2 separate regions of the Homo sapiens genome follow, and region 1 is linked to region 2. The links are contacts of gene promoters, found by promoter capture Hi-C in blood cells and fetal thymus (Javierre and others, 2016). All regions are on one chromosome and are shown on one strand. Each heading gives the region's core, a stretch centred on a gene start or on the middle of the fragment in contact. The rest is flanking DNA. Distances are from core to core; before and after follow the strand shown.

Region 1 (3,057 bases), core at 540-3,039, 92 kb after region 2:
GGGCTGAGGCAGGAGAATGGCGTGAACCTGGGAGACAGAGCTTGCAGTGAGCTGCAAGTGGAGTGCCACTGCACTCCAGCCTGGGCAGCAGAGTGACTCCATCTCAAAAAAAAAAAAAAAAAAAAAAAAAAGAAAGCTCCCCAGATAACTCCAAAGTGCTGAGGGGTACTGGTTAGAAATGCGCAATCTCAGGTCTCTCCCCAAGCCTGTTCTGAGATAAAATCCACTCCTTCACTGAGTGGCTCACTGCCATCTTCCACGCTGGCTGGAAACAGACTGCATTTTAACATGACCCCCTACGTGAATTAGATACACGTTAAGGTTTGAGAATCATTGGTTGACACCAGTAGTTCTCAAACATTAGTGTGTATCAGAATCATCTGAGGGGCTTGTTAACTCAGCTTGCTGGGCCCCACTCCCAGTTTGACTCAGGTCTGAGGTGAGGCCCAGAGATAAAGTCATTTTGAACATGTTCCCAGGTGATGCTGATGCTGCTGGTCAGGGGCCCACACTCTGGGAACTATTGGTCTACACCATGCAGCTGTTATGTAAGTAGAAATTAAGGTAATGAGGCCGGGTGCAAGGGCTCACGCCTGTAATCCCAGGATTTTGGGAGGCCAAGGCGAGTGGATCACCTGAGGTCAGGAGTTCAAGACCCGCCTGGCCAACATGGTGAAACCCAGTATCTACCAAAAATACAAAAATTACCTGGGCATGGGCGCACCTGTAATCTCAGCTACTTGGGAGGCTGAAGCAGGAGAATCGCTTGAACCCAGGAGGCAGAGGTTACAGTGAGCCAAGATTGTGCCACTGCACACCAGCCTGGGTGACACAGCGAGACTCTCAGAAAAAAAAAAAGAAAATAAATCTGGATAATGAATTGGGGAAAAAAACCCCCAACCGGTATTATATAAGGTACATAGGTTTTGAAGGTAGAGAAACCTAGGTTGGAATCCCCACTCCACCCCTAATTATGAAAACCTAGAAAAGTTAATGTCTCTGAACCTGTTTCCACATTTATTAAACTACAGGAGAAACAAAGCTACCAGAATCACACTCCACTAAAGGTACTCTCCTTTGATTTCAACATGCCCTGATAATGTATTAGTGCACTATGTCTTACCTATCCCTTATTTTCAGACCTGAGTTAAAGGGGGTGGAACGCTCTCTCTTTACGACCTCACTCAGCATCCCGTCCAGGGCTGTGCATTGTGGCACTGAGCGTGGCAAGCCAGACTAGGCCAGTGACGAGGGGGCCTGGGAGCTAGGTCCCTGGGCATGGCCTAACGACCAGCCACCCGGCTGCAGCCTGATGAATCTGCGATCAAGCAAAGGTATGGGGCTGCTGCTGCGACTGCAAAGAGCAGTCACCGGACCTCGAGTCAGGCCCGGGTTCTAGAACAGGCTTTGCCACCTCCTAGGAGGGCGATCACTTAGCAAACCACTTAGCTTCTCCAAGCTAGCTAAGCTACCGGTAAAACGGGATGAGCACCGCTTACTCAGAGCAGCGGGAGCGGGTCTGGGGAAAGGAGCTATACTCGGTAAATGGGGAAGAAAACGCTTCCTGGGCTCCGGCACCTCCTTCCGGAGGTCCTGGCATCCCCCGCATTCCGCCCCGGGGCTCCCTGCACCGCCGACCCGGACCCACCACGCGACATTCCTTCCGCTTTCCCCGTCTGGGTCGCCGCCGAAGCTAGCGGGCGCCTGGACTGGCTGCCTCCCGCCGGCTGCAGCAGGACGGAGAAACCATGCCGGCGACCGGGCCGCTCTGTCCTCCGGGCGCAGAGTGCGTCAGTGCTCTGCAAGTCACCGCGTCACGGAGAAACTACAATCCCCAGAATGCTTCGCGGCGCGGGGCTCGTGCTCCGCAAATCCCGGCCTGCGTCATTGGAGTCTCTTTCACTAGAGTCGTTCATTCATTCCGCACGCATTCATTGAACCGGCGACCTGGGCCAGGCTCCTTCCCAGGCTCCGGCATGGAGCAGTGACCAAGATCAAGTGGCTCCCTGAGCTGATGGCGCTGCAGGGGAGAGAGTCTTAAGAAAACAAAGAAGAAAAATAGGGAAAAATTTCTTCAGAAGATTAAAGGTGTGATGTGATGGTGACAAGGTGGTCTTTTATTGGATTGTCAGGGGTGCCCTGAGAAGGTGACATTTGAGTTGAGATTAGTGACATGAAGCCAAGCTTGTGAAAACTATGGGAGGAGCATTGCAATTAGCGGGAACAGTTTGTTAAGTAAAATTTATAGGAGGCAGGGCCGGGTGCAGAGGCCCACACCTGTAATCCCAGCACTTTGGAGGACAAGGCGGAAGGATCACTGGAGCCCAGGAGTTCGAGACCAGTCTGGGCAACAATGGGGAGACCCTGTCTCTACAAAAAATAGAAAAAATTAGCCCACCGTGGTGGCGTACACCTCTGGTCCCACCTACTTGGGAGGCTGAGGCAGGAGAATTGCTTGAATCCAGGAAGTGGAGGCTGCAGTGAGCTCAGAAAGTAACACTTCATTCCAGCCTGGGCAACAGAGCAAGACTCCGTCTCAAAAAAAAAAAAAAATTGGAGGCCATTGGTTTGAACAGGGCTCCTGCACCAAGCCCAACAGAACCAAAATGGAGTCACTCATGCTAAAGTTCTACATCACCAAGTGGAAACTAAGTTGTTTATCTGATATTCCGATAAATCAGAAGAGTGAGAGATAGCTAGATCTCCAAACCATCCTGTTTTAGCTGGCAGGATAAGGAAGTCCCCTCTGCTTTAGCCTTCAAAGTTACAAGGAAAGTAACTTTGAAACAACCAATCTTTTTGTTTTCTGTTTCTGCTTTCCTCAGCCCTTTTCTGGCTGTAAAACCAATCTCCTCTGCTCAGCTCATTTGAACACTCATTCCATTTTATAGAATGAAGTGTTGCCCGATTCTAGAGTTGCAAATAAAAGTCAGATTTAACAAATTTGGCAAAAAAAAGTCAAATCACCAATTAAAAGTTAAATTTTTTCTTTTCACAGTTCATGCAAAGAACCTGGGGGAAATGACCTTGACAATTTAGGAACACAGGAAAGGCCAG
Region 2 (2,789 bases), core at 94-2,593:
TTTAACCTTAAGCTGTTTAAGTTGAAGCATTCTCAGATGTTTGGGGGGAAACATCCTCTTAAAATGGGTCCTTGTGCTTGCCTTCTGGGGAGGCGGTCCTGAGCAGGTGAATCATAAGGCATTTATGCATATGTTATATGCGGACTGCACCCACCTCTCCCCCCCAGCCTTTGCCTCTTGCGTTGTTGTGCTGCTTTCCCCTTACTTTGCTACATTTCTATAGTTAAGTTGGTTTTACTTGAATGATTCATGTTTAGGGGGAAAATGAAAATCTCCCTTAAAATTTGTTTCAACTCCTCCTGCAAATAAAATAAATGAAGTGGCAGATGTAAACGGGTTCTGTTCATTGTCATCCTGAGTGTGTGTGTGTGTTGAGGGTGGTAGATAACTTCCCACGGCAGTTTCAGAAAACCTGAAAGACAAAGGGCCTGTGGGGCCTTGCGCAGGCTGCTGGAGTCCCAGACAGACACAGTCCTTCCTGGGAGGAGCATTGTGTACCTTGGACACCCCAGGAGAAACAGATTTTTTCCACTGGTGTCATAGGCAAGGACTTTGGCTTCCTTCATCATGGTGGTGGGGCAGGGATCAAGGGATGTGGTTAGTAGGCTCAGCCTTCTACCTGAAAGAGCCTATCCCACATGGACTGGCCATAGGGTGGGCCCTAACCTTCAGACTCCTGCCGGCTGGGGACTCAACTGTGAGCAGAAATCTTGGAAGCTGGTAAAATTCATTCTCCCGGCCTAACTCCCAGGGAAAACCTGGAGGTGTTTTCTGAAACCAAACTAGACCTCTGGCCCCAAAGCAGGGGTCTTTGCTGTGTCCTTCCTATATGGGGGTAGAGAGTGGGTACGGGGCCAGAGAGGAGTACGCCTTGAAGGAAAGCAGACTGGAAGTGTCCACTCAAAGCTATTGCTGGTACAAGGGCAGCCACTTCATTCACTCAAGGCCGGTTTAGAGCGGTTGCTACTTGCTGGGGGGCCCCACCCTGGTATGTGCCTCTCCCCACCTTTTCCCCTCAAGCCAAAAGCTTGTGAGCTGGGGAAGGGTGGGCCTGGAAAGGCTCTGTGCAAATTGTAGCTGGGAGCCTCCGGGCAAAAGCTGAGGGAAAGGGAGAGGCGGCTGGCCTAAAATTTAGGTGGGCGGAAGAACCTGTGACGGAGCTGTGACCGCTGCACAGGCCAGAGACCCTGGAGTCCTCCTCACCCCGGGGTTGGGGGCCGGACCTGCTGAGCCGGGCCGCCCCCTCTCCACACCCACTCCCAGCACCTGGCCCGACCTATCGGCTGGCGGCTACGCCTCCTTTACCCTACTGTCTTGCCTCAGGTCGCACCCTGCGCGGGCCCAGTACTCGGCCGTCAGAGGGAGCTGCCAGGCTCTGGAGGGCGCCCCGGAAACCATGGGTAAGTGCGGAGGCTTTGAGGTGGCCTCTCTCTGCAACCGTGGACATAGCAAGAGCCCACACCACCCCCCGACCCCCGCTGCCCTCTACGGTGCTTGGGGACACGCCCGCCCTAGCCAGGCTGCCCGGCTGGGCCTTTCTGAGCCGCACGCCGGCCCCGTCTTCCGCCCGCAGAAGTCCTCGTCCTGGCCGGATACCGCGCGCAGAAGGAGGACGAGCTGAGTCTGGCGCCCGGGGACGTGGTCCGGCAGGTGCGCTGGGTGCCCGCGCGGGGCTGGCTTCGCGGAGAGTTTGGGGGCCGCTATGGCCTCTTCCCCGAGCGCCTGGTGCAGGTGAGGCCGAGCCAGGGGCGGGCTGTGGGGTCTCAGCGCGCGCCCCCCGGGAGCTGAGAGCGCCTTCCCCGTGCCCTGATTCCCAGGAGATCCCAGAGACCCTGCGGGGCTCCGGAGAGGCGCGGAGGCCGCGCTGTGCGCGCCGCCGAGGTGAGCGCAAGGGCGGGGACGGGCGCCGGTGGGCGGGTGCACGGAGCCAGTGCGACCCCGGCGTCTCCGGCTCTTAGTGACGGGCGCGGCTCTGGGCGGGACCTCGGGGCCGCCCTGCGGTCTGTGATTGGTTCTCGAGTGCAATGCTCCGCCCTGGGGCGGGGCTGGAGGGACCAAAGGCTACGTGCGCGCCTTGCGCTTCCCCCAGCTCCTCTGACTGGGGCGTCCGACTGGAGCTCAGCCGCGCTTGTCCGGTGCTAGGTCATCCTGCCAAACACCCGAGGCCCCAAAGATGGTGCAAAGTGAACTTCAGCTACAGCCCAGAGCAGGCGGACGAGCTGAAGCTGCAAGCTGGGGAGATCGTGGAAATGATAAAGGAGGTGAGGGGTGAGGTGATGGGACCGTTTGGGGGAGGATGATGGAACGCGCCTCCCTAGTGAGCGGGGTGGGAAGTGAGGGTGTGGACGGTGGGAATGGCGACGGTGCAGATACGGGGAAGCGCGGGAGGGAAGGAGGGAGGAAGGGGCGCTTGGGCAGAACCAAGGGTGGCAGATTATCCTAGGGACTCTTGGGGCAGAACCAGACGCCTCTGCGTCCTCCCCTCTCCCCAGATTGAGGACGGCTGGTGGCTGGGGAAGAAGAACGGGCAGCTGGGAGCCTTCCCATCCAACTTTGTGGAATTGCTGGACAGTGGGCCCCCAAGTGAGACCTCGACTCTGTGACCCTGTGACTCGCAATCTCCAATGACCCTCCCAGTGGCATGAGCCTGTGATTCACATATCCTGACCCTGTGACCCCTCTGACCCTCTCCCATGACCTAACCTGTGAATTAGCACCCTCCCTAACCTCACTGTCCCCCACTAGGCCTTGGTAACCCAGACATGCCTTCAGTCAGCCCTGGTCCCCAG

Evidence for each region. The method cuts DNA at HindIII sites, captures the fragments that hold promoters and counts their contacts. A CHiCAGO score of 5 or more calls a contact.
Region 1: the fragment with the promoter of LSM10 here is called in contact with the fragment with the promoter of SH3D21 in region 2 in 1 of 17 cell types (endothelial precursors); the score reaches 5.6 in endothelial precursors.

The regions. Positions count from the first base shown.
Region 1 is chr1:36,396,119-36,399,175 of GRCh38, forward strand. LSM10 (LSM10, U7 small nuclear RNA associated) reads right to left here and starts at 1,790. Exons shown (of 2, transcript NM_032881.3): 1 at 1,649-1,790. RefSeq lists enhancers at 935-1,647, 1,648-2,359. The HindIII fragment of the contact is 5,014 bases long and covers 1-2,182 here.
Region 2 is chr1:36,305,025-36,307,813 of GRCh38, forward strand. SH3D21 (SH3 domain containing 21) reads left to right here and starts at 1,344. Exons shown (of 16, transcript NM_001162530.2): 1 at 1,344-1,400; 2 at 1,574-1,731; 3 at 1,818-1,881; 4 at 2,143-2,261; 5 at 2,493-2,583; 6 at 2,746-2,789. The coding sequence starts at 1,397. It overlaps THRAP3 (thyroid hormone receptor associated protein 3), which reads left to right. Exons shown (of 12, transcript NM_005119.4): 12 at 1-333. RefSeq lists silencers at 1,385-1,434, 1,655-2,094 and enhancers at 1,592-2,392, 2,195-2,244. The HindIII fragment of the contact is 29,085 bases long and covers 1,026-2,789 here.